Regions from separate parts of the Homo sapiens genome. Here region 1 is linked to region 2. The links are contacts of gene promoters, found by promoter capture Hi-C in human tissues and cell types (Jung and others, 2019). All regions are on one chromosome and are shown on one strand. Each heading gives the region's core, a stretch centred on a gene start or on the middle of the fragment in contact. The rest is flanking DNA. Distances are from core to core; before and after follow the strand shown. Region 1 overlaps PRH1-TAS2R14 (PRH1-TAS2R14 readthrough). Region 2 holds the start of LRP6 (LDL receptor related protein 6).

Region 1 (5,372 bases), core at 812-3,311, 1.1 Mb after region 2:
GATCTCCTGACCTCGTGATCAGCCCGCCTCGGCCTCCCAAAATGCTGGGATTACAGGCGTGAGCCACCGTGTCCGGCCAAAATAGTTGAGTATTTTAATTAAATAACTAATATTTAAGTATTCTCAAGAGAATAACTTAGTTAAAGGCCTAAGCCTTAGAGATTAAGTTTGATAAACATTGAAAATGGGCTGAAAAGCCCGAGTAAGAAAATTAATTTTCATTTTAGAAGTTATAGGACAGTAATTTTTCCAAACCATGAGGGGTGTGTATGTGTGTGTGTGTGAATGTGTTTGTGTTAATGAGCTTGTTAACAATAAGTTGTACAAAATTATTAGTTAGCAGTAACCAGTTTTCAAGGAATATTGGCCTTCCTGGGCTTCCCAAGAAAACCTTGGACACTTTTGGTAGAAAAGTTGGGATTCACTCTCCATAAATCTGGCATTGAAAAAATGATTCAACAGTGGTCATGATTCTAGTTTTGACCAAGCTACATATAACAGTGTAGGCATCCAATGTATGATTTATGTATTAGGTTGGAAAATTTCCCTAACAACTCACATTGCTGAACGCAAATTATGGAGACATTAAACAAGGAAAAAATTGCAAAATGATGATTAAGTGTATGACTTGATTTGCATGCTAGCAAATGAGAATTCAGCTTTCACATCAACATCAGTATGAAAAATTTTATCTTATAACAAGCATATAGTATTTGAATAGGAGTTAATTTGAGCTGTTTTGGAAATTATCCTGTTTTCCATTAAGACAGCCTTGAACTCATTCAATAGCATTCCCCGGTGCTTTCCTGTTTGACATTAGCCAGAGAATTTAAAAGGAACAAGAACGTTATTGCACAGTCAGAAATCAGGAGCACATAGAAATTAAGGTCAGGACCTTAAAGGGAAACTTGTCCATTGGTATTAGGCCTGCCTTAAAAAATGCGGACATGGTATGTTTACTACTCATCATTATTTTCCATAACAGTAATGGTAGAATTTGTATTTTCCCATGGGCACCTTCATTAGGCTTATAGACTATTTTGATATTTCAACATATTATTTTCTTTGAGTCCTTTTAATGAGTTGTTAAACAATGCTAAAATTTGCCTTACAGTATACTGTTAACTAATCATATTTTCCCAAAGTCATTTGACATAATGTTTGGTTAAAGGAAATATGTCTAGTACAGTTACACTCTAGGATTGTAATCCTAGAATTGTAAATCAGTGCAATTACTTTGAGTATGGCATTATCTGATTAAGATGATGGATCACATCTGAAGACCCACTATTGCACTCTTATCAGAATACATATACACACACATGCATATCACTGAGTTTTAATTGCTAAAGTTGACAAGTCTGTCAAATGTCCATGGGTGATAAAATGGATAAATAAATTATTGCATAGTCATACAATAGAATACTATACAGCAATCAAAATGAACCAACTAGAGAGACGTTTATAAAGAATGTTAATAAAAAGGAAAATGAACAAATTTGCACTACATAGATACGAGAGATATTAAGATGGAAACATGATTCCGTATAATTACATTTATATAAAGTTTACAAAACTATATTTTTAATGAATTGCAATTTATTACATTGTTGTCGAAATTCTAAAGTGAGACCCAAGAGTGATTATTGTAACAACTGGCACAGTAGGGACGGAGGAAACAAAAGGGAAATGATATCAACAAGAAGGTGTATATGGGGAGTGTCTGGATTGCTGGTAAATTCTACTTCATGACCAAGATGTGGTAACATGACCCTTAATGCTATAATTTTTTTCTATACTGTACCTTCAGGCTTTATTAATTTATATATATGTTATGTTTCATAGTAATGAAAATATTTTAAAAGCAGAATCATATAATAAATGAATGAATATAAAATAGGCTGAAAAAACATTCTTGTAGACACCATGGTAATTAGAATTTTTGCTGAATAAAGAAGAATAGAGCATTATGATAGTAAGAAATCCAAGATAAAATTTTAAACTTTAAATTAATTTTAAAAAGGAAGAGATAAACAGGAAGTCTACCTCCACACTCTTAATGTTATTCTTATTTTGAAACATCAGATTTTGCACATCTGTATTTTGCTAGACACCTTTTTTTCTTATTTCCAATTTAGATATTTATGATCACAACATTTCAAAGTGGCAGAAATTAGTGAATTTCCAATATAGTAATATCGATATTAAATATACAGGACAATTTTCTAAATTTATCCCTAAATGAAATAATAATACACATATTTTTACCATTCAAAGATTATAATACCATGCATGTGTACACATGTGTGAGGAAAAATATTTTGATACTACAAATTTTTTGAATATTACAGGAGAATTAGTAGAAAGATAATTTTGTTAAGGCATAAAACATATGTAGTATAACTACTTGGACTGCTATAATAAAATCACCCAGATTTTGTGACAGTAGCTGAGAATGTAAATAAGCAGTAGAGAGAATTTAACTTGTTAATGATGCTATTAAAAGATGAAATGAAGCTTATTCACTCTATAATTGCAAAGAGTATTTGTGTAAGTTCATAGGAAAGTGGAACAAAATTAAACAGCCAACAAGAGAGTATTCTTTGCTGGAGGTCAATTTTACTGTAATTTTTAGAATGTGGTAAAAGAAAAAAAATAGCAAGTAAATCATTGGAAATGTGTCGGTTTTGTATTATTCTTGACGAAATATTATGTGAGGGTATTTGTCTAGGCCTGATGCTGAGAATAATACAAGAATTGTGCCGGGCATGGTGGCTCATGCCTGTAATCCCAGCACTCTGGGAGACCGAGGCTGGTGGATCACCTGAGGTCAGGATTTCCAGACTGGCCTGGCCAATATAGTGAAAACCCATCTCTTCTAAAAATACAAAAATTAGCTGGGCGTGATGGCGGGCACCTGTAATCCCAGCTACTTGGGAGGCTGAGGCAGGATAATCAATTGAACCAGGGAGGCAGAGGCTGCAGTGAGCCAATATTGCGCCATTGCACTGCAGCCTGGGTGACAAGAGTGAAGCTCCATGTCAAAAAAAAAAATCGTAAATCCATGAGAAAGAATAATAGTGTTCTCCCACTACCCTTAACTCTAGTACATTGAAAAGAAGACCCAAATCACATTTATCAAATAACATTCTCCCTTTTAGCTGACATTATCATCATTATTATAATCATCTACATTTACATCTATCTTATTAAATGATTTATTTTTGAAATATTTACATACATAATTTGGACAACGTTTACATAAGTTCTAAGAGATATCATTGTGGGAAATTTACGTTAGTAAACAGCAAAGTTCAAGTCAAGTTGAATACATTTAGATTTAGAAAGTTAAGTGTAGTGCAGTTTAAAATACATTGCTGAAGAAAACAATTATAGATGATATTAAACTAATCCAAGGAACACTATAAAAAGATTTTGATTTTAGTATAAATAAAATTGCTTAATAAGAAAAATAAATAAACCATTTCATGATCAAGCTCTTATTTCTAAAGAGAGGATTTTAGGGCTAAACAAATCAAATAAGTAAGCCCTCCCCCACATCTTCTCTATTTCATGTAGGTAATGATGGAGTTCAAAGGCACAGAGCCCCATTTCTACAACATAAGCAAAGTGAAAATTAATTCATGGAATACAATGACATAGCTGTGGTTGATGAACTATATTTTATCTATTGCAATGATATTTTGAAATGCAGTGCTACTCATTGAGTTTCCTTGTGAGGAGATTGTGTGGCGAGGACCCAGCAAGACAAGCTACTATCCCAAAAAAGCTACTTATATGAACTTCATTTCCGGTTTCTTTCAAATTGAAGGTAAATTCCAAGATGAAGCTTTTATTCTATTCTCTGACCAAAGTGTTGGAAAAAGAAGGAATTTGTTACCATTTTCATTTCTAACATACTAAAACAGAAAACAAAAAACCCCAAAATCAAAAACACTTTTAAAAAGAACATGGCGTTAAGATTAGTTTGTTCAGTTTCCCTGTAGAAAATAATTTATGGAAAGATAATAAAAGATTATTCTGAACACTAAAACAAGAAAACTAAAAAATGAATTATCAATATTGAGAATCCAATAGACAGAGTTAACCAGTTAGATGGAGTAGAAGAGATAATTAGTGAATTGGAAGATAGCTACAAAGAATGAAGCACTGAGAGAAAGATGGAAAATATAAGACTAGAGGGTAACAAATTCATGCTACAGTTGGAATATGTAACATACTTCTGGAGTTCTGTAAGATTAGAGGAGAGAAAATAGAGCAAGAGAAAATACAAAGTTGTACTGAAAATACAAAGTTGAACATGCAAGAAGCAATAAAATTAATGACAATGAAAAATAAGTGTGTAATTCTAAATAAATGTTGCCTGTAGAAAACAATAGTGTCTTGTTGGATTAATTGTATAATTGATAAGATATATGCAAATAGCAATAAAGAGACTGGAGATAAAGTGACAGGAATAAATTTAGTCAAACTGTTTTGGGCTTTTCTATGTCTGTGAGTAGAATTTGAATATCATAATCAAGGACCGTATAAATCTACACCCAGATATATATACACAAAGGAATTGTAGCAAATGATATGTGAAAGAATGTTCATTGTAGCATTATTAATAATAGCTCAAAAATAAGCTGCCCAAATATATATCAAATAAAGATGGATAAATAATTACAGTAAAATCATAAAATGGAAAAATATACAGAAGTGAAAATAAATGAATCACATGTACATGCAACCATGTGATTAAATTTCAGATACATAATGTTGAGTCCAGGAAGCCATGAATAAGGACATATAGGATTGCACCTATACACAGTTCAAAGCAGACCAAACGAAGCTATTGAGTTTAGGGTTGCATGCTTTGTTCGTAAAGTACAAAGAAAATAAAAAAAGATCATTATAAATTATGGATGTACTTATCATAAGAGGTGTGAAGAAAGGTGTAGGGGATTGGAAAGTGGCATTGAGGTAAACCTAGCCTCTTAGCAATGTTCCATGTCTCGCCCTACATAATGGTTACATGAGTGTTTATGATACATTGCTATGTTTTCCATTTTTGTTTTGGCCCATTTCTAAGTGTGTAGTCTAGTTATAAAAATTATTAATTAGGAGAAATTTTCCATGAAAATTATTATTACCCTGCTCATTATATACTGAAGGGAAAAATCCACTATTTGTATACATTCATGTATAACTCTAAGAGATTTTAAGAAGAAACTTTCTGATTTTAGTTGCAACTTTTGGAAATTTGACATGATGTTTCCTGCCAACCCCAGATTTTTCAACAGGTTTTTCTTTTAGGTTTAATTATTGACTTCATATGACAAAACTTTGACATTCTCCAACTATTTTTC
Region 2 (5,983 bases), core at 430-2,929:
ATGACGCGATATCGGCTCACTGCAACCTGCGCCTCCTGGATTCAAGCCATTCTCCTGCCTCTGCCTCCTGAGCAGCTGGGATGACAGGCGTGTGCCACCATGCCCGGCTAATTTTTTTTGTATTTTTAGTAGAGACGGGGGTTTCACCATGTTGGACCAGGCTGGTCTCGAACTCCTGACCTCGTGATCTGTCCGCCTCGGCCTCCCAAAGTGCTGGGATTACAGGCCTGAGCCACCCGCCCCCGGCCCAGTTTCCTGCTTTGAGGAAGCCAGAATACAAAACTCACTTGGTTCTTAGAAGCAGGTCATTTAAATAAACGGTGACTAGACCTCAGGTGAATTTGGGAGAAAGTGATTTGGCTGTTTCTGCTGTCCATCTACTTACAAACCTGCAGCACCTTTGGTTCAGCGCGCATTTCTTGGAAGGAGCGGAGTGGCTTAAGTCAGAGACCTGGATTGGGCTGAGGTACTGCTATTCATTACTTGAGTGGCCCTGGGTAAGTCATTAACCTCTCAGGTTCTCATTTTGCTCCTCTGTGCAATAAAGAATAAGTAACAAAACCTGCCTTTCCCCAGGGTAGTTTTGAGTGTCAAATATGATAACTTGTGTTCAAGCACTAGTGAACTCCAATGTCACTGAGGTACTTGTTAACATTGTGGTAGCAGCTCCACTTTCTTGCCCATCTGCCTCCAGGTAAGGGCGTGTGACAGCTGGGCAGGATGCATCTGATGGCTCCATTAGGGTTAACTGTTGGAGCGCCTCTGCCCAGACGAAAGCCTGGCAGGTGATTTCAGGGGGCGTCTGGGCCATTACTCCTGAATGCCCAATGCACTGGGAGTAGCAGAGGCTGTGCACAGTCTGAGATTCTAGGGAATCTTTTCCTTCTCAAGCTGAGAATTGATAATCGAAGCATGCCAAACATTCGTTATTATATGCAACTTGTAAAATCCTAAATAGTCTTGTCCAATTGTCCCTTTGCTCTTAGGTTTTGAGGCATTTATCTTGGAATTTTATCTGCCAGTTTAGAAATCTTTAGCTGGTCGGGCTTAATTCTGGGGGCAGTTTGTATTTCTGGGAAGGCGGGAGAAAAATGACAATCTCAGTTTTGAATTGGCGTTTTAATATCGTTCACCAGATCCACGCTGAAAGCCGGTGTAAACAGCGTTCAAAAATTCCGCCCTCCCAAAAAAAGGATGCTGAAACCGATTTCCAACCCCGAAGACGGAGCTCATCACCCCGCAACGGGATCCGCCGTGGCTCCCCGCGCGTGCACCGCGGCTGGGCAGTCTCAGGTGGCTGGGGGCGCGAGACCGGAGCCCCACCTGGCCCTGCCGGCGGCGGCCGCACAAAGAGCGGGGCAGACGGCTGCCCGGCCGAGCCGCAGAAAGTAGTCCCGACCACGCCGGCTCCAATGTTGTTCAACGCCGCCTCACGCCCTCCGCGGGGAGGGCCGAAGCGGCCGGTCCGGGAAAGAATCCCGCTGGAATGCGCCACCGGGAGGAGGCTTTCCCTCCCAGTTCGCCTCTGCTAGCCCAGAACCTCTCCCAGGGTCTCAGGCAGAGGCTGTGCGTGCGGTTGCCGACTCCCTTCCCTGGCCGTACAGGAGGCAGTACCGGGAGAAGGGGCTCGTTGCGCGCAGGGACACGGTCGCGGCGACCCTAGGAGGCGGTGCCGACCGTATCCCTGCGCCGCTGCGCGAGGCAGAGGCTGAATGAGGAGCTGCGCGGGGGAAGCGGGGCGCCGGGGGAGGAGGCGGCGGGATGGAAGCAGACGCTGGCGTCGCGCGAGCCCGGGGCCGAGCGGCGCGGTAGAGAGGGCGGCGGCGGCGCGCGCGGAACCTTGACGTGCCCCTTTCTTTCTTCTCTCGCTGGGAAGCTGGGAAGTATGAGCGTGCAGCCCTGCCGCTGCGGCGGCCGCCCCGGCTCCTCGCCTCCCCCACTTCTGGCCACCCCTCGCCGGTGAGAGAAGAGAACGCGAGAAGGGAAGATGGGGGCCGTCCTGAGGAGCCTCCTGGCCTGCAGCTTCTGTGTGCTCCTGAGAGGTGGGAAGAGTGGGGGCACTGGAAAGTTGGTGGGGTTCGGGGGGAGGTGGCCTTGTTGTATGTGTCTAGGGGGAGGGGAGGGACGGAGGAAGGGAGAAGGGGAGAGGAGCGGGGAGAGGCCTGGTCGTGGGGAGGGGGAGAGAAAGGGGCCCGGGAGCAGGGGCTGCGTGCACCGCCCGGCCACAATGCGGACCTGGCCTGGCTTCCCAGACCTTCCCCGGACACATCGGAGCTTCGATCCCGGCTGCTGGTCTTAGGGAACCCTTGGCACCCCATGCTGTCGGGATGACTGAGTGTCTGTGTGCCTCTCTCTGCCTGGGGTCTTCCAGGGAAAAGGGTCTTTGTACGTATTTTGGCTTTTAAAATGTTTGAGTCCGAGATGCTTTAAGGTTGGCCTTATCCATCGAAGCCCCGCCACCCACTCCCCACCCCGTTTCGGTGTTTCTTAGGTGAACTTTTAAAGCCCTCTTGCTATTTTTTCCAGGCCTTGTTACAGGTAATGATTGGCTTCCGTTTGGGATATAATGACCCTGGGTGAGAGCGCAGTTGGAAAGTGACTCCGGGGTTATAGGTCGAGCGTTTCAGCATTGGGAGCCTTCTGAGCTTCAGCCCATAATAAAATAAAACATTGCCCTTGTAACCTCTGGTATTCACGGCTTGCCCCTATTTTCGGAGTATGCAAGTGTACAGTTGGCACTAAGTAGGGAAATTCATCCTCGTGTGAAGAGGAGCCGGTCCTGGGACCAAAATGATAATTTGCTCTGCACCCCTGGGGACTGCTTGGCACTTTGGTAAATTGCATAGGCTGTTCGAGATAATTTGCTCTGGGAATCGCTTGAATTCGATGGCACTATGATGTTTTGAATTGGACTGCAAAGCTGACACATGCTCTGTGACTTTTGTGACAGTTCACAAAGATTTTTGACTGGCCCGTCGGCAGCTCTTCTCAAACTATTTAGTGTTGAACTTGAGATGGCTGTGATGGCTGTGGAGCATTTACCAGCAGAGGAATTTAAGTACTGCTCGATACGGTGGCTTGTAGTTTTGGTTTGGTAAAGTTCTTACTGGCGTTCATAGTAAGTTCTTTTCAGGCATGTGACCGCTGGTCGCTGGAGATTTTTAGGTGTTAACAAGCTAAACTTTTGTTAAGTTCTCCAAACTAATTTAAGTTTACAGAACACTAATAGTAACTAATAGTCTGTGACAGGTGTATATTTTTGCGTGTACTGTGTATATGTATTTCGGATGAGAATGATTGAGTTTTTTTTTGGAGGAGGAGAAATACTTTCTTCAGTTACTCTGTAGTAATGCAGCATTGTGTTTGCATGTTATATTACTTGATACTCTAAGCATATTACAAAGTTTTCCCACATGTAAACCCCGGAAAGGTAGTGTTCATTAGATTTTTGTGGCAGAAATTTTAATGAAGTGTTACGTACTGGAGAGGTTTCATAAGTATATACTTATTTTATTATTGGCATACTCTATTGAAAGGGGTTTTGCTGTAGCTGTTAGAAACAACTATATTTGACATAAGAATATGTATGTATTTTAAGACATAAGGTTAATAGGGCTGACAAATATGAGAACCAGCTGATTGGTTAGAGTCGTGGGAAAACTTATAACTTGGGATGTTTCTGGTTGTCTAGTTGTATTTCTTGGAGGAGAAGCGTGTGATGTAAATGCCGTTTGTTTAACACCAGCTTTGAGACCAGAGCTGGGTTTGTTCATTATTGGAATTTAGATAGGTTGCACTTATTTATGTAACAAGACCTGGAAGAGGTAATAGTTTAAATTGTCTCGTTTCCACTAGCAAAGTTTTCAGAAGTGGAGCTCTCGTTTTAAATGTGGCGAAATATGGTGTAAGGTGGTCTTCTAATATGTAACAGTACTGTACTTAGCTGTGAGTACATATTATTTGAAGTAAAACTGTCTTTTGATGTAAAATATTTTTGTTCATAATTTAGAATTAATTCATTCTTTGAGAATGTCATCCTCTGTTATAGTAAAGATATTTAGTCAACCTTGGACTCCAAGGAGAAAAATCTGATTGATTTGTTGCATTTAGGTCATTTTTTTCCCCCACAAAGAATTGGGGCTTTAACATTGGCTGGGTGTGATGGGGTATGTGAGAGTCTGGGAGACCTTCTGTCCTGTAGCCCTGTTGAATTAGTAGCAGAAAGCCAGGGAATACTGTTAGTGCTGTGTCCCTATCTCTATCATCACATGACAAGGTATAAAGGAAAGATTTGGGAATTTCAATACTAAAATCTTGGATTTAAAGCCCAAGTGTCACAACTTCATAACTTTGTGGTTCTGGTCTAGTCCGCTTCTCTAGGTCTCAGTTTCTTTACTGGTAGTGTGGATAATGATACCTGACTAGTTTGCAGGGTTATTGGGTGTTTTAAATGAAATAATATGGAGTACCTTGTTAATGTTACTTTTTGCTATAATTTTTGCTTGTTCAGGGACATATCCTCAAATGCTTTCATGATTTGAGATTTAATTTGTATAACGTTCACAATTTTTTTTTTTTTAAAGAGACAAAGTCTTGCTTCATCACTCAGTCTGGGGTGCAGTGGTGTAATCACAGCTCATTGCAGTCTCAAAGTCTTGGGCTTAAGTGATCCTCCTGCTTCATCCTCCCAAAGCTCTGAACTATAGGCACGTGCCACTATGCCCCCAATTTTTTGTAGATATGGGGTTGGTGTGGGGGTGTCTTGATATGTTGCCCAGGCTGGTCTCCAACTCCTGGCCTCAAGTGATCCTCTCAAAGTGCTGGGATTACAGGTTACAGGTGTGAGCCACCATGCTTGGCCAGGTTCACGAATTCCTATTTTTTTTTTGGAGGTAGGGTCTTGCTCTGTTGCCTAGGCTGGAGTGCAGTGGCATGATCGCTGCTCACTGCAGCCTGGACCTCCTGTGTTCATGTGATCTTCCCACCTCAGCCTCCCAAGTAGCTGGGACCACAGTTGTGTGCCATAACACTTGGCTAATTTTTATAGAGCCAGAGTTTTGCTATGTTGCCCAGGATGGTCTTAAACTCCTGGGCTCAAGTGATCCTCCCACCTCCGCCTCTCGGAGTTCTGGGATTACAGGTGCAGATTCACACATTCTTTTTTTTTTTTTTGAGACGGATTCTTGCTCTGTTGCCCAGGCTGGAGTGCATTGGTGTGATCTCCGCTCACTGCAAGCTCTGCCTGCCGGGTTCACGCCTTTCTCCTGCCTCAGCCTCCTGAGTAGCTGGGACTCATTTTTTTGTATTTTTTAGTAGAGACGGGGTTTCACTGTGTTAGCCAGGATGGTCTCCATCTCCTGACCTCGTGATCCGCCCACCTCGGCCTCCCAAAGTCCTGGAATTACAGGCGTGAGCCACCACGCCCGGCCAGATTCACACATTCTTTTTTTTTTTTTAAAGACAGAGTTTCGCTCTTGTTGCTCAGGCTAGAGTGCAATGGCATGATCTCGGCTCACTGCAACCTCCGCCTCCCGGGTTCAAGCGATACTCCTACCTCAACCTCCTGAGTAGCTGGAATTACAGGCATGCACCACCATGCCCAGCTAATTTTTTTTTTTTTTTTGTATTTTTAGTAGAGATGGGGTTTCTCCTTGTTGGTCAGGCTGGTCTCGAACTCCCGACCTCAGGTGATCTGCCCATCTCGGCCTCCCAAAGTGCTGGGATTACAGGTGTGAGCCACCACGCCTGGCCCAGATTCACACATTCTTAAAAGTGAAAGGGATCTTGGTCGTTTGAGCCTCACCAGTTTATTTGTAAGTGGGGAAACTCAGATTCAGAGATACTGTAATTTAATAAAGGTAGGTTAATTAAAGATGGGGCAGGGATTTATTATTCATTCTTTTAGCAAATATGTATGGAATACCTCCTATATGTCAGCCTCTGGTACTGATGGTGAGTAAAACAATGTGTTTCCTAATCTAAC

What was found. The method cuts DNA at HindIII sites, captures the fragments that hold promoters and counts their contacts. A contact is called where the count stands out against the background at its distance.
Region 1: a contact is called between a fragment that was not itself captured here and the fragment with the promoter of LRP6 in region 2, in 1 of the 25 tissues and cell types used here (heart right ventricle).

The regions. Positions count from the first base shown.
Region 1 is chr12:11,122,531-11,127,902 of GRCh38, reverse strand. The region is part of intron 1 of PRH1-TAS2R14 (PRH1-TAS2R14 readthrough); the gene reads left to right. The region is part of intron 1 of PRH1-PRR4 (PRH1-PRR4 readthrough); the gene reads left to right. It also overlaps a transcript of PRH1 not described here. Among named protein-coding and RNA genes, the nearest start is that of TAS2R30, 9.4 kb to the left of the region's middle. The HindIII fragment of the contact is 7,268 bases long and covers 1-5,372 here.
Region 2 is chr12:12,262,740-12,268,722 of GRCh38, reverse strand. It overlaps LRP6 (LDL receptor related protein 6), which reads left to right and starts at 1,679. Exons shown (of 23, transcript NM_002336.3): 1 at 1,679-2,042. The coding sequence starts at 1,988. RefSeq lists enhancers at 1,449-1,498, 1,036-1,672, 4,849-5,349 and a silencer at 1,679-1,988. The HindIII fragment of the contact is 18,079 bases long and covers 1-5,983 here.